5 separate regions of the Homo sapiens genome follow, and regions 1, 2, 3 and 4 are each linked to region 5. The links are contacts of gene promoters, found by promoter capture Hi-C in human tissues and cell types (Jung and others, 2019). All regions are on one chromosome and are shown on one strand. Each heading gives the region's core, a stretch centred on a gene start or on the middle of the fragment in contact. The rest is flanking DNA. Distances are from core to core; before and after follow the strand shown. Region 1 has its middle 19 kb from the start of MYOZ1. Region 2 has its middle 3.4 kb from the start of USP54. Region 3 overlaps USP54 (ubiquitin specific peptidase 54). Region 4 overlaps FAM149B1 (family with sequence similarity 149 member B1). Region 5 holds the start of ANXA7 (annexin A7).

What was found. Contacts are between HindIII fragments. The study calls those that stand out against the background at their distance.
Region 1: a contact is called between a fragment that was not itself captured here and the fragment with the promoter of ANXA7 in region 5, in 2 of the 25 tissues and cell types used here (IMR-90 fibroblasts and dorsolateral prefrontal cortex).
Region 2: a fragment that was not itself captured here is called in contact with the fragment with the promoter of ANXA7 in region 5 in 1 of the 25 tissues and cell types used here (dorsolateral prefrontal cortex).
Region 3: a contact is called between a fragment that was not itself captured here and the fragment with the promoter of ANXA7 in region 5, in 2 of the 25 tissues and cell types used here (hippocampus and mesendoderm cells).
Region 4: a contact is called between a fragment that was not itself captured here and the fragment with the promoter of ANXA7 in region 5, in 1 of the 25 tissues and cell types used here (hippocampus).

Annotation. Positions count from the first base shown.
Region 1 is chr10:73,620,582-73,623,719 of GRCh38, reverse strand. It overlaps a transcript of USP54 not described here. Among named protein-coding and RNA genes, the nearest start is that of MYOZ1, 19 kb to the left of the region's middle. The HindIII fragment of the contact is 4,845 bases long and covers 1-3,138 here.
Region 2 is chr10:73,593,049-73,596,426 of GRCh38, reverse strand. It overlaps a transcript of USP54 not described here. Among named protein-coding and RNA genes, the nearest start is that of USP54, 3.4 kb to the right of the region's middle. The HindIII fragment of the contact is 7,322 bases long and covers 1-3,378 here.
Region 3 is chr10:73,572,201-73,575,134 of GRCh38, reverse strand. The region is part of intron 3 of USP54 (ubiquitin specific peptidase 54); the gene reads left to right. Among named protein-coding and RNA genes, the nearest start is that of USP54, 18 kb to the left of the region's middle. The HindIII fragment of the contact is 3,296 bases long and covers 1-2,934 here.
Region 4 is chr10:73,232,058-73,235,069 of GRCh38, reverse strand. FAM149B1 (family with sequence similarity 149 member B1) reads right to left here. Exons shown (of 14, transcript NM_173348.2): 10 at 1,907-2,131; 11 at 130-253. It also overlaps a transcript of DNAJC9 not described here. Among named protein-coding and RNA genes, the nearest start is that of DNAJC9, 14 kb to the left of the region's middle. The HindIII fragment of the contact is 5,885 bases long and covers 1-3,012 here.
Region 5 is chr10:73,412,505-73,415,503 of GRCh38, reverse strand. ANXA7 (annexin A7) reads left to right here and starts at 1,446. Exons shown (of 13, transcript NM_001156.5): 1 at 1,446-1,492. RefSeq lists a silencer at 1,263-1,822 and enhancers at 2,223-2,302, 2,313-2,432. The HindIII fragment of the contact is 7,160 bases long and covers 1-2,999 here.

The DNA.
Region 1 (3,138 bases), core at 321-2,820, 210 kb before region 5:
CAAGGTTCTGCCCCTGAAGAGTTTATATAGTAGTTGACAGGACAAAGAATTTGTTTGTTTGTTTGTTTTGCAACAGGGTCTCACTGTGTTACTTAGGCTGGAGTGCAGTGGCAAGATCATGGCTCACTGCAACTTCAACCTCCTGGGCTCCAGCCATCCTTGTACCTCTGTCTCCTGAACAGAGCTGAGACTACAGGTGAGGGCCACCATGCCCAGCTGATTTATTTTTAGAGATGGGGTCTTGCTATGTTGCCAGGCTGGTCTCAAACTCCTGGGCTCAAGTGATACTCCTGCCTCAGCCTCCCAAAGTAAGAATTTTCTTTTCTCTTTTTTTGAGACAGGGTTTTGCTCTGTTGCCCAGGCTGGAATGCAGTGGTGTCATCACAGCTCACTGCCACCTCAACCTCCTGGGCCCAAGCTTTCCTCCCACCTCAGCCTCCTGAGTAGATAGGACCACAGGTGCATGCAACCACGCGCAGTTAATTATTAAAATTTTTTTTGTAGAGACGAGGTCTTGCTATGTTGCCTAAGCTGGTCTGGCTATGTTACCCAGCAATCCTCCTGCCTTGGCAGCTTGGCTTCCCAAAGCGCTGGGATTACAGGCTTGAGCCACCATGCCCAGCCTAAGAGTTTTCAAAATTACAAAGTGTTAACCAAACTAAACTGTGCTGCCTTAGTGAAACACATAGTAAGTTTCTCAGAAGAGATAAAAGAATGGAAGTTTGAGGAGAAAATTCACTGGTCAGTTCATAATTTAAGCCCTTTTTTTTTTTTTTCTTTAAAGACGAGTTGTCTGTTGCCCAGGCTGGAGTGCAGTGGAGTAATCACGGCTCACTGCAGCCTCAGTCTCCTGGGTTTAAGGAATCCTCTTGCTTTTCAGCCTCTCCAGGAGCTGGGACTACAGGTGCTTGGCTAATTTTTGTACTTTTTCTAGAGACAGGATCTCCCTATGTTGCCCATGCTGATCTCAAGCACCTGGGCTCAAGTGATCCTCCCACCTCAGCCTCCCAAAATGCTGGGATTATAGGCGTGAGCCACCTCGCTGGTCCTATTAGTCTTTTTTAGTACTCCTTTACTGTAGATGTAAATAAATACGGACCAGGCACGGTAGCTCAGGCCTGTCATCACAGCACTTTGGGAGGCTGAGGTGGGCGGATCAGTTGAGGTCAGGAGTTTGAGATCAGCCTGGCCAACATGGTGAAACCCCATCTCTACTAAAAATACAAAAATTAGCTGGGCATGGTGATGCCTGCCAGTAATTCCAGCCACTCGGGAGGCTGAGGCAGGAGAATCGCTTGAACCCAGGAAGCGGAGGTTACAGTGAACCGAAATCATGCCACTATACTCCAACCTAGGCAACAGGCAAGATTCTGTCTCAAAATAAATAAATAAATAAATAAATAAATAAATAAATAAATATTACAACAGTCTTAAGGCAATAATAATAATAGATAACATTCATTGAGTGATTATTAATGTGCCAGGCACATTATCTCATTTTATCTTATAACAACACTCTGCTCTGCAGCTGGTACTAGTTACTTTAAAGAAAACCAAGGCTTAAAAAGTTCAGGAAGTTACCAAAGATTATTGAGCTAGTAGATGGTAGAATAGAGATTGGTGTGGGAAATTTATGTGATTCTAATATACTAAGAAAGATTTCTTTCTTTTGTAGGGAAGGAGGGAGTCTTGGTATGGAGGAAGTGGGGAGAGGTTGCAGGTGGAACTGGCCAGGACACCAGAATTCTGGGTGGGACTTGGAAGGTATAAATGGATAGGGGTATCTGTTTTTTTACTCATACATTTTCTCCCTCAGATATTTACACTACCTATGGGGAACTAATGTGAATGTTAGCATGGTGCTAAATACAAAATTTGTATTGTTATATAGAGAATTGAGTAAATTACCAAATTTCTGCTGTGTATAATTGTATAGGGAGCTATGCTTGGGAAAATAGTTGTAGCAAGCAATTATATATTTGTAAGCTTCCAGCAAGTGATCATTTTAGTAGTGGAAATGGTTATCTGTATTCATATATAGGGGAAATGTTATTACAACAGACTTTAAGGCATTTAGTCAAACATATTTTCATACAGTAGTTTTTTTTTTTTTTTTTTTTGAGACGGAGTGTCCCTGTGTCGCCCAGGCTGGAGTACAGTGGCGCAATCTTGGCTCACTGCAAGCTCCGCCTCCTGGGTTCATGCCATTCTTCTGCCTCAGCCTCCTGAGTAGCTGGGATTACAGGTGCCCGCCACCATGCCCGGCTATTTTTTGTATTTTTAGTAGAGACAGGGTTTCATTATATTAGCCAGGATGGTCTTGATCTCCTGACCTTGTGATCTTCCCGTCTCGGCCTCCCAACGTGCTGGGATTACAGGCGTGAGCCACTGTGCCCCGCCTTCATACTGTAGTTTTTTTATATTGAGAAAAATGTATGTATGTGTCACATGTTTTTATATATTTGCTTTCAGGTTTTTTTTTTCACTCTATATTCCAAAGTCCAAAGTACGGTTTTCTGGTTGAAATTCAAATTTTACATCTTTGTATTATTTGTTTGTTTTTTGAGACAGAGTCTTGCTCTGTCACCCAGGCCGGAGTGCAGTGGCACAATCTTGGCTCATTGCAACCTCTGCTTACCAGGTTCAAGCGATTCTCCTGCCTCAGCCTCCTGAGTAGCTGGGATTACAGGCACGTGCCACCGAGCTCAGCTAATTTTTGTATTTTTAGTAGAGACGGGGTTTCGCCATGTTGGCCAGGGTGGTCTCCAACTCCTGACCTTGGGCGATCCACCCGCCTCAGCCTCCCAAAGTGCTGGGATTACAGTGGTGAGCCACCGCATCCGACCTGTTTGTTTGAGACAGAGTTTTGCTCTTGGCCTCAGCCTCCGGAGTAGCTGGGATTACAGGTGCCCGCCACCACACCCAGATAATTTTTTGTATTTTTGGTAGAGACAGGGTTTCACCATGTTGGGCAGGCTGGTCTTGAAGTCCTGACCTCAGATGATTGACCCGCTTTGGCCTCCCAAAGTGCTGGGATTACAGGCGTGAGCCACCACTCCCGGCCCCCAAATTTTATATCTTTGTAAATGGCTTCTTTAAAAATCTACGTGAGATTATGTCTGTAATCCCAGCACTTTG
Region 2 (3,378 bases), core at 788-3,287, 180 kb before region 5:
CCACTACGCCTGGCTAATTTTTTTTGTATTTTTAGTAGAGACAGGGTTTCACTATGTTAGCCAGGATGGTCTTGATCTCCTGACCTTGTGATCTGCCCGCCTCGGCCTCCCAAACTGCTGGGATTACAGGTGTGAGCCACCGTGCCCAGCCTAATTTTTGTATTTTTAGTAGAGATGGGGTTTCACCATGTTGGTCAGGCTGGTCTTGAACTCCTGACCTCAAATGATCTGTCCACCTTGGCCTCCCAAAGTGATGGGATTATAGGCGTGAGCCACTGCACCCGGCCTGTTTTTTTTGTTTTGTTTTTTTTTTTTGAGATGGAGTCTTGGCTCTGTTGCCCAGGCTGGAGTGCGGTGGCACCATCTCAGCTCACTGCAACCTCCGCCTCCTGGGTTCAAGCGATTCTCCTGCCTCAACCTCCTGAGTAGCTGGGATTACAGGCACACGCCACCATGCCCAGCTAATTGTTGTATTTTTAGTCAAGACGGGTTTTTCACCATGTTGGCCAGGCTGGTCTCAAAATCCTAACCTCAAGAGATCCGCCTGCCTTGGCCTCTCAAAGTGTTGGGATTACAGGCGTGAGCCACCGCGCCCGGCTGATTACTTTCTGTAAGACTAGCATTTAGGTAATTCTTTGGTGTGCTTGAGAGGGATTTTCATACTCTTCTTGCTTTCTAGGAGCTTTAAGTCCAGTCCAAGACTTTTAAAAACCCTTGTTCTATAGACAGGGTGGTTAATGTTCATAATGACATAATGCTATTTGATATACTTTTTAGAATTATGCAAGATATAGTTAAATAAATGAATTTAAACAATAATGATGCTATAATTAGAAGCCCAAATGTGTGGCCCCTATCTCCCTCTCTTCTTTAGAGTCCATTTATATGAGAAATATAGAGATTTCTTGTATGATTTTGCTGCTCAGGTCTGTGATTAACAGCCAAAGTTTCTCCAAAATGTATTCTTTGGATCAGTTTTTTTCTCTTCCCTCTACCCTTTCTGCAATATTCCTCTTCTCAGTAATGCATACTTGAGTGAAACAACCAGCTCTTTAAGGTACACATGCTCTGCCAACATTGTGAATAAATCTCAGAATAAAAACTAGAGTCACCTCTGATTGCACAGGGATTGCACCTGTGACTAGCCACTGCACTCCAGCCTGGGCAACATAGTGAGACTCTGTCTTTAAAAGAAAACACCAGTGGGGCTTGGTGGCTCACGCCTGTAATCCCAGCACTTTGGGAGGCTGAGGTGGGTGGATCACCTGAGGTCAGGAGTTTGAGACCAGCCTCGCCAACATGGTGAAACTCCATCTCTACTCAAAATACAAAAATTAGCCAGGTGTGGTGGTGTGCACCTGTAATCCCAGCTACTCTGGAGGCTGAGGTAGGAGAATCACTTGAACCCGGGAGGCAGAGATTGCAGTGAGCTGAGATTATGGCACTATACTCCAGCCTGGGTGACAGAGTGAGACTCTGTCTTCAAACAAAACCAAGATTAAAAAAAAAAAGTTAAAAAAAAACCCACTAGACTCAAATTAGTTATGTAGTTTTCCCTGTTTTTCATCTACTTCATGGTATATTCTTCCTTACAACCTAGAGTCAAAGGCTAGAATATTTTCTCTTAGGTTCCTTATTAGCTAAGATCAAGTCCGTCTCTAATTTTTGTTTGCTAGAACTCCAGTTTAACAGCTCTGAATTAAGCTTCCCCTCTCCCCAGGATCAAATGATAAAGGCTTTCATTTGATATAAAGCAGTCTCTTCCCCACCCCTCCCCACCCCAATCCTCCAGTTTATTTAAAAGTCTCAGCCTAGGTAACATACTAAGACCCTGTCTCCAAAAATCTTTAAAAAATTAGCTGGGTCTGGTTGTACACACCTGTAGTCCCAGCTACTCGGGAGGCTGAGGGTAGAAGATTGCATGAACCCAGGAATTTGAGGGTTCAGTGAGCTGTGATCACACCACTGCATCCAGCCTGGGCAACAGAGGAAGAACCTGTCTCTTAAAAAGTTCCCAAATTTTGTCACTACATTCTAAAATCTAGAGTCTTTTATTGGCTGGGCACAGTGGCTCACACCTGTAATCCCAGCACTTTGAGAGGCTGAGTCAGGTGGATCACTTGAGGTCAGGAGTTCGAGACCAGTCTGGCCAACATGGTGAAGCCCCATCTCTACTAAAAATACAAAAACTAGCTGGGTGTAGTGGCACCTACCTGTAATCCCAGCTACTGAAGAGGCTGAAGCAGGAGAATCACTTGAACCTGGGAAGTGGAGGTTGCAGTGAACCGAGATCGTGTCACTGCACTCCAGCCTGGGTGACAGAGCAAGACTTGGACTCAAAAAAAAAAAGAGTCTTTTATTTTCCAATCTCGTGTTCCTACTGCGGAGCCACTCAGTTCCTGCCTTTACTGCCGACATCAGCATTATCATTAGCATCTCAGAAATAAAAGACAATGATGGTTTGACTTTGGGGTTACTCCAGAGGGAGTTATTTTGGTTTTTCTTAGAGAAATCCTCTGTTTCTCTTTTATGACTTTTAAGAGAAGCAAAATGTTCTTTCAATGCATTGAACATTCTGTTGTACCTTACTCTATTTGCTAGTAGAAACCAATAATGAAAAGCTACGGAATGTGACCAAATAGGACTTTTCAGCCTGTGCTTTTCCATTACCCTCCCCACTACCCTCCAAGGATTTTTCTTGATTGATTTACTCAAATCCTAAATATTGTTTCTCCTTGCTAATAATATTTATATTTTTTCAGAGACCTTTGTCTATTCTGGTCTAAGGTGGACCTATTGTGGTGTTACATATTCCCTGCAAAGTACTTGAAAAATATGACTTGTTAAGTTTTGTTGAAGCACAGTTTTACAAAGTACTGTTGTAACTAGTCATCCAACTTTAGAATACCTGAACATTTAAACTAAAACCCTATTTTAAAAAATAATAATCTGAAACACTATGTATCACTCTCCCTCTTGACGTAGTTAGCAATCATGTACCCAAAACCTTTTCTTTCTATTTTTATTTTTCCTTTTTTTTTTTTTTTTTTGAGACAGGGTCTTGCTCTGTGGCCCAGACTGGAGTGCAGCGACACAATCACTGCTCACTGGGGCCTTGACCTCCTGGGCTCAAGGGATCCTCCCACCTCAGCCTGGAGTAACTGGGACCAGAGAGGTGCGTGCCACCACACCAGGCTAATTAAAAACTTTCTTTCTTTCTTTTTTTTTTTTGTAGAGAAGGGGCCTCCCTGTGTTGCCCAGGCTGGTCTTGAACTCCTGGGCTCAAATGATCCTCCCGCAATGGCCTCCCAAAATGCTGGGATTACAGGCGTGAGCCCCTGCACCCGGCCTATAAAACCTTTTCTACAGGCAGTTTGA
Region 3 (2,934 bases), core at 252-2,751, 160 kb before region 5:
TCTTGCCTCAGCCTCCCGAGTAGCTGGGACTACAGGCGCCCACCACCATGCCCAGCTAATTTGTGTGTTTTTAGTAGAGACGGGGTTTCACCATATTGGCCAGGCTGGTCTCGAACTCCTGACCTTGTGATCCACCTGCCTTGGCCTCCCAAAGTGCTGGGATTACAGGCATGAACCACCGTGCCTGGCCTATCTTTCTATTTATCAACTTTTTTTCCTGAACAGTCTCTACAGGTTCCTATTTTTCTTTTCTTTTCTTTTCTTTCTTTTTTTTTTTTTTGGACAGTCTCACTCTATTGCCCAGGCTGGAGTATAGTGGCCCAATCACAGCTCCTGCAGCCTTGACCTCCAGGGCTCAGGTGATCCTACTGCCTCAGTCTCCTGAGTAGCTGGGACCATGAGCGATCTCGGCTCACTGCAACCTCTGCCTCTTGGGTTCAAGCAATTCTCATGCCTCAGCCACCCAAGTAGGTGGAATTATAGGTGTGCATCACCACACCCGGCTAATTTTTGTATTTTTAGTGGAGACAGGGTTTTACTATGTTGGGCAGGCTGGTCTTGAACTCCTAGCCTCAAGTGATCCGCCTGCCTCAGCCTCCCAAGGTGCTGGGATTACAGGTGTCTGGCCTGTTTTCTGTTTCTCCTTTCGGGAGTAAGGTGTGTTATCCTAGTTGCTTTTCTCTAGTATAGAAGCAAAATTCTTTCCACAAGTCAAAGACTTTCAGGTATGTTAATCTCGTCTCTTAATATTCAGGCTTTTGGCCCACATATTGAATGGAGTCTAGTCTTTGTCCAACTTATCTCCTCTCTTTGAGCTCTCCTGTTTTGGCTCATAACTGGTGTCTAGTCAGATACACTTGAACAGAGCTAGGGGAAAGTGAATTCCCTTAAGTTGATTATCTACCCTACATTTTCCCTTTCACTGTTGCTTGCCACTTGAGTGATCTTAGAATCCCAAAGCTTTCTGTCTGTCTGCTCTGCCCAGTCACGCCCATAGCATGTTAAGTTCATCCCCCTTGGCCTAACTTTCAAGTAATTACTTTCTCTTCTTTTCTGCTCTTCAGTGTAAAAGTAAATGAAATTTGCCACCCAAGATAATTATACTTGGGTAAAATATTAGCTTCACTCCTCAGATGTTATGAGAAAATGGGTTGCTATGAGAGAAGACAAGATATTTAGTATAAAGAACAATGGTCCTGGGCATTAGGAGGAGACCTGGGTTGTAGTTTTAGCCATTCTGTAGACTAGTCTTGTGACTTTGTACAGGTAATAGTGTCTGAGTTTCCTCATTCATAATACAAGAATGTTGCCAAGCTTATCTAGGTAATAAAAGTTTCATGCTCTTTCTCAGTTTTTATTTATTTATTTTTCAGACAGAGTCTCACTCTGTCGCCCAGGCTGGAGTGCAGTGGTGGGATCTCAGCTCACTGCCACCTCCGCCTCTTGGGTTCAAGCGATTCTCCTGCCTTAGCCTCCTGAGTAGCTGGGATTACAGGCTGTGCACCACCACGCTGGGCTAATTTTTGTACTTTTAGTAGAGACGGGGTTTCGCCATGTTGGCTGGGCTGGTCTTGAACCCCTCACCTCAGGTAATCTGCCCACCTCGGCCTCCCAAAGTGCTGGGCTTACAGGCGTGAGCCACTGTGCCCAGCCTCTTTCTCAGTTTTTAAGTTTTTATTCGAAAACAATAAAAAAAAATTATGTGCTGGCAAGCCTATAGAAAAAATTTAAGTGCTTTCCCTAATTATTACCCAAATTTCATGTAGTTAGGTGGAGTTGGTTAGGTTTTTGTCCTGGATGATGCATATTAGTTTTCTTTCTTTATTTCTTTCTCTTTTTTTTGGAGCCAGAGGTCTCACTCTGTTGCCAAGGCTAGAGTACACTGGTGTAATCATAGCTCACTGCAGCCTTAACGTCCTGGGCTCAAGCGGTCCTCCCACCTCAGCCTCCCTAGGTAGCTAGGACAACAGACACATGCTACCACACGCAGCTAATTTTTTTTTTTAATTGTTTGTGGAGAGAGGGTCTCACTATAATTGCTTAGGCTGGTCTTGAACTCCTGGGCTCAAATGATCATCCTGCGTTGTCCTCCCAAAGTGCTGGGATTATAGGCATAAGCCACCACACCTGGCCACATATTAGTTTTTTTAGTTACTTTGTATCCTGATAATACTTTTGTGATTTAGAAGCAGGCAAAATAAGGCATTGATATAAATGTGTTTGTTTACCCGTGTCTTGGCCATAGTCCCATTTTTGTAATTGTTTTTTTCTATGTGGTCTATTTATATTGTCAGTTGAAACAATACTATTTATGATTTCCCATTCTAATTTCCAGTGCCATATACAATACATAATATATATACACATACATATTTCTGTATCCATACTTAATGATTGAGGCATTGATGGTTTTGGAGTCCCTATAATAATCATGTTACATGTTGAAAATAATTGTTGTTATGAGCTAATATTCTAACTTTTGGTTTCAAAGCTGTGTTTACCACAGATGAGTTGAACCTATTACATTTGTTATAAAAAGGTGTTATTTACTTGGGAGCATAGCCAGTTTCAAAGAACTTTTAGAGTGTGTATCTTGAGACATATAAGTAAGAAGAAGCTCCGGAGGTGTGCTGTCATCTGGGGCTCCAGAAATTATGCTTTTTCATGTATTATGACATTAAATGTTTTCCTAGCAAGGGGGAGCTTCCTAAGGCATTATGCTATATACTACATCATTTCTTTTTTAACTAAAAATTGCAATTTATTCAGATTTCCTTAGTTTTTACCTGGTGTCCTTTCCTGGCCCAAGATTTCATCCAGGATACCACATTTAGATTTACTTGTCATGTCTTCTTAGGCTCCTGTTAGCTGTGACATTTTCTCAGAATGTTTATGTTTTTGATAAACTTTGACAGTTTTGAGGAGTACTGATCA
Region 4 (3,012 bases), core at 67-2,566, 180 kb after region 5:
AAATTAGCACTGTGTTTGTACTTTTGACAAAACACAGTATAAATCAAGATCAGGGCACAGATCCTGCAGAATTACTGCCCATTAGGTTGTATGGTAAGTACATGGAGAGGCAATATGAAAGAAACATACCATCTGTCTTTGTGGCCCCACAGTGCTCACATGTTCCACTTCAGCTGTGCCAATAGGTGGTAGCAGATTATTTCGACTCAGGGGCGTCGGTGAGGGAGAGGAGAGCGAGTCGGGTGCCACTGGGCTGCAGATCCCACCAACAAACACGAAGGTATGAAAGCATGAAGTTATAACAATACCAGCAAATTGATTAGAAATCAGATAAATGAAGCAGATGAGTTTAATGTGCACAGAAAGCTTTAGGCTACCTATGTTTTCAAGTAGAGATCTCAGGATTTTTGGAAAATTAGTTTTTAAAATAGTGTTTTCTGATTTTGTTTTGAAGCTCTATACTCTGGGTACACAACAGAAGCTGGCCTTTTCTCTCCCACAGAACTGGAATAAAACATTTGTCCCTATCTGGTATTGCACTTCTCTGCTGATTTGGATTTGTAAATTCCCAGCTGATGATGGAATTCTTGACAGTTCTGGACCTTCTGGTTATCGTTTTCCCTAATAACTATAGTTCTCGGGTAAAGTTCCTAAACCTTCATTCCCTTCAGTAGGATCTGGAGCAGCTTGCAGTATTCCTTATCCTTAAGACAGTAATTGAAACTGAATGATACTTTCATGTCCCAGAAGTAACAAAGCAACTTACTTTTCAACTTTGAAAAAAAGTACTGTCAGAAGGAATGAGAGATTAATTATACATCAAGACTACTCATCCCCAAATGAATGCATTTATAGCTCTGTTGGTATAGATATAGCTACATCCACATAATAATGCTTAACTTGGAAGCCGCATTGAAAACACTGCTGTGGCCTTATTATCTCATACCTTTGAGGATATTTTTAGAAATTAATCATCCTAAGACATTTTGTGAATCAACAGCTAAAAGAATTCTATGTTTAAAATTGGCTCCTAGGTATTTTTGCATGATGAGGCTCAGAGTGTGTAGTGAATGAAGGGTGGGAAAGGCGATTACTTTTAGTGTCACTTCCTAGGAAGTGCTAAGGGATATTTTTGCTGGTATGTAAGCAACTACTTATCTGAGGTTTATGAAGTTTTCATTGTCAATGGAATAAGCAGATCCCAATGGTACAGAAGAACCTTAAAGGGGAATTAACTATTATTTTGGAGTGAATTTCACTGAATATGTTCCCAGCACGGAAAATGTTTGATTAAATAAATAGGTTCTTTATTCCTTTTGTAACCCCAATATAGTATTCTAGCCAACATTTTATTTTTACAAATAGAACTCTTTAGCTAGATCAACAGAAAGATTCAATATCTATTTCATTAAAATTATTTAACCCCTGCTGGGTGCGGTGGTTCACACCTGTAATCTCAGCACTTTAGGAGACTGAGGCAGGCAGATTGCTTGAGCTCAGGAATTTGAAACCAGCCTGGGCAACATGACAAGACCCCTGTCTCTACTAAAAACACAAAAAGTTAACCTGGCATGGTGGCACCACCCGCCTGTGGTCCCGGCTACTTGAGAGGCTGGGGTGGGAGAACCACTTGAGCCCAGAAGTTGAGGCTGCAGTGAGCCATGATCATCCACTGCACTCCAGCCTGGGCGACAGGAGTGAGACTGTATCTAAAAAAATAAAATAAAATAAAATTTAACCACATTAAAAAATTTTGTGTTGGATCTAAACCCATGGGCAATCTGTCATAAGACTACTTAATGATTAGTTTCTAGGCATAGATTTCAGTCTTATATTTAAATTAATTCTGTATGTAAAATGTGTTAGTTTTACCACGGTTTCCAGAAGTTCTGCTTTTGAAACCTACACTCGGGCTCCTCTGAGGATTTCTTCCACAGATCTTGGTGTTTCAGCACATGAATGGCTCGTGCTGATCGGATGAAGAGTTCGTGGTGGTGGATTGCGTCTCCTGGTGGACTGCACTGTGTATGACAGAGATGATGTACTAAACTCCACAGCTCGATTTGGCCAATTTCGAGTTGAAAGGATGGTACTGGACCCAGGCCTCATAAGTAGCTTGTCATCAAGATCTCTAGTAGCCAAATCAGAAACCCACAATGAAGTAAAGATCAGTATGTCAAGGAAGACAAGACTAACGGGGTAAAAAGCCTTAGACTAGAAACTACATTTAGGGGGAAATAAAGCAAAAATAAAAACCTTTCAATAAGTAACACTAGTTTCCAGATGGTACTCTAGCTCAGGCATGAGAATCTGTTCTTAAAAGTGGGACATTATTTCAATCATAAACATAATTTACTAGAATGGACATTTGGCAAAGCAAGTCCATTATCCACCTGCCATCACAGTCACTTTTTTAGTCACCAGTGAAGGCAAGCCTGAAGGACACCTACTCCAAAGTGCTTCCCAAAAATTTGCCACAGGGGCTGATTCCTACTCTGTTTGAGGCATTCTTTTGTGCTGAAAGATTGTCACCAGAAAGACAACTGAAAGACAAATATTGCTGCTTGGGAGCAGTTGTGGCACCAGTGTGGCTCCCACTGTAGCAATTAAAGTGCTGAGCAAGTTGGAGCTGGCAGGGATTTGGGTTTGGGTTCTTTGGAAAGCTGGGAGTGGGCAAAGGGTCTTGTGCTGCCCAGAGCCAGAGCTGTTGGGACCACAGTAGCCCTATTTGCATAAATAACTGAAATACAACCCTTTTCTGTAAGTCGTCCAATAAATAAAATAATACCACACCTAAACAGTTCAGTAGCTTAAATACTGCCCTACAGATTCAGGTGTGTATTTTTTTTTCTTTTAAAGCAAGTGAGAGGACATTTGACTATTTTAAGACATCTAAGAGTATCCGCACAATTAAATGGAAGAGAAGTGAAAGAATAACGCAGCTAAGCTCTGCCATTTGCTCCTATAGCTTTCAGCAAGTTCCTCAACCTTTCAGGCCACTTTGGTGTCCTC
Region 5 (2,999 bases), core at 197-2,696:
TTATTGGAGCAAGACGGAGATGAGCAACCTTGAAAACAAGTCTAATTAAGATGAGTAATTGTTAAAAGATGAGCAGTGCTTTCTAAGCAGAGGTAGCAGGAGGAAAGGGTCTCCGATCCTGTAACGCCTTTTATGCCAGGAAGAAAGGATGAATTGAAAGGATGAAATGGCAAATGTCGTAGTAGACTATTGGACTATTCCTGCAGCTCAGGAAAGTGGGCTGGAAATAAGAGGTTTGGCAAATACCCTGTTATGGTGGTATTTAAGGCAGAGGGAGGGTTTGGAACGAGCTCACAAAGGGAACTCTAGAATGAACAGAGTAGGCTTCTCAGGGAAGGCTTAAATCCTGGAGGTCTCTGGGGTAGGTAGGACAGAAAGTCCTGTTATTTTCCAGGTAGACAGACTGTTGGGCGCCGGGGAATTAATGCTGGTCACCTAGAGAGTTGTGCATTTTGTCTACCATTGTTAAATGAGGCAATGACCTGCCTCAAATACTTTTCACTCCACACACCTATTTGGAAGCCACGTATATTTTGCTTGCTCTTCCCATTTAAAATCGTAATCCACTCTATTCCACCCCCATGAGGAAGCTTTTGGGTAGAAAAGTGTGTAGAGGAATAAGTAAGTTGATGTGCATCAGATGTGCAAACTTTAGTGTGCATCAGAACCACCTGGAAGGCTTGTTAAAACAGGTTGCTGGGCACCACCCGGGGAGTTTGATTCAGTAGGTCTAAGGTGGAGTTCAATAATCTGCGTTACTAACACGTTTCCAGGTGATGCTGCTGTTCGGGGGACCACACCCAGAAGCTACCTTTTACCACTCTAAAAGGTAGCTGATTGGTTTTCTCTGTAATATAAATTCCTTAACGAGTTTAAAATATTGATCTGAGCCCTCGTAATTGCCTCAAATGTTTAATGCTAATGTGTGTTCAATGCTGTAGCCACGAGGGGAGCCTAAAATCACCTAACAACTCCTTTCGGGAGTGATTTTGATTAGTTCATCTACAGTTCCAACTAAGATTTCCCACAAATATTACTTTCACAGGAGGCTAACAAAAAACGCCGTCTTTGTCCCCAGAAAATACCTGGAGGACGGTATTTCAGAGGCGGGGAGGCTGCACCAGCCTCCCAGTCTCAGCCCTTCTCTACCGCCCGCCACTGAAGGGGCCCCGGATACCCCCAGGACTGCTGCAACTTCCTAGGTGACTTGAGGCAGCCTTAAAAGGGATTGGTGCAGGGTCCTTGCGACAGATAAATGTGATTAAAAATCCGCTGGGCCACCCGAAGGGAGAGTCTTTTTCCCTCAGGTGGCGCCTAGGGGCGGGACTGAGGGACAGCCCGCTCCCCGCAGCGCCCTCTCCGGCTCCGGGGGTGTTCCCGGCTGCAGCCGCGATCCTAACGGGCTCGCGAGACGCCCCGCCCACCCTGGGCCCGCCCCCGGCTCCATCTTGCGGGAGACCGGGTTGGGCTGTGACGCTGCTGCTGGGGTCAGGTGAGGAGCGGCGCCCCCCTCCCTTTCCCACCTCGTCTGCCTCGGTGGTCTTGCCCTCGGCCAGCTCTGGGCGCTGCTGTCCCGGTGCTAGTGGGGCGCGGCTGGAGGGCAGTGTGGGCCTCCCGGATGGCGGCGACTCGGTTTGCGCGTCTCGTAGCCGGGCTGCCGGCCGGGGTGTGTTGGGGTGGCGTGGGTGAGGCGGCCGGCCTGGCTTACGGGAAGCCCTTCCGTCCGTTTGGAAATCCCAGGGACCAGTGGCGCCCCGCCCTCGGGCAGGTGGAGGGGCTGAGGCCGGAGCGTGGCCCAGCTGCCTCGCGGGAGGCTGAGTAGGGAAACGCACGGGCAGTGCTGAAAGCCGTCTGGCTGGTAGTGGCTGTACTTTCCGGTGACACAGCGAATTTAGGGAAACTTGGGGAAATTTTTACTGTGTTTAGTGAACCGTAGGACAGAATGCGCCAGGCCAAGGTCGTACACTGGTTCTCGTTTACAGTTCTTGGAAGCTATTCTAGAATAGCATTCCAGATTTGATTGCTGTTCCCCGACCAGCAGCAAATCTGTGTTGAAATTAGCTCATCCTGTGCAAACACTGCGCAAGGAAACCAAGGTGCAGAGGTAGATGGCTGATGTCCACCGTAAAGTGACAGACATGACGCTGTTGTCTTCCGACTGCCGTAAACGCCCTGATTTTTGCCAGCTGATGGCCAGCTAATCTGCTAAATGTGTCCGAATTAGATGATGAGTGTAATGAGTTACCTTCCAGGCAAGGAAAGAGTTTCAAGCACTGAATAGGTAAAAGAGATAATTTTGGCCACTGCAAACTTTCAGTCCTTTTCAGTGAGGACTGTCTTTCAGTCCTCACTGGTGGTTGGCTACCTACCTGTCCGTGCAGAGGACTAGCCATGCCTCCATGTTCTTTCTCCACATCACTGACGGATTTAAATGATCCTACCATACCTAGAAGCCGGTTTTGCAAAATTGTATTCGCTGTTGCGCGTATCTTCAGTCACCCTTCCTGTTTCGTGTATTTTTTCCCCCATAAATTTGCAACAGCTGCCTCTTGGGTTCCTGGGCTTCATGCCATCAATGAGAAACGGTGAGACCCAGCCCTTTTACTAACTGACTCACTGGGTGGAGGTGGTTTGGAAAACCAAAAATGATTTTCTAGTCTTTTAAAAGTGATTGCTAACAGAGAATGTTTAAAAAAAAAAAAAAAAAAGCCCGAGCGCGGTGGCTCACTCCTGTAATCCTAGCACTTTGGGAGGCCGAGGCGAGAGATTCACGAGGTCAGGAGGAGTTTGAGACCAGCTTGACCAACACGGTGAAACCCCGTCTCTACTTAAAAATACAAAAATTAGCTGGGCGTGGTGGCGCGCGCCTGTAATCCCAGCTACTCTGGAGGCTGAGGCAGGAGAGTCGCTTGAACCCGGGAGGCAGAGGTTGCAGTGAGCCAAGATCGCCACTGCACTCCAGCCTGGGCGGCAGAGAGAAACTCTGTCACAAAAAAAAA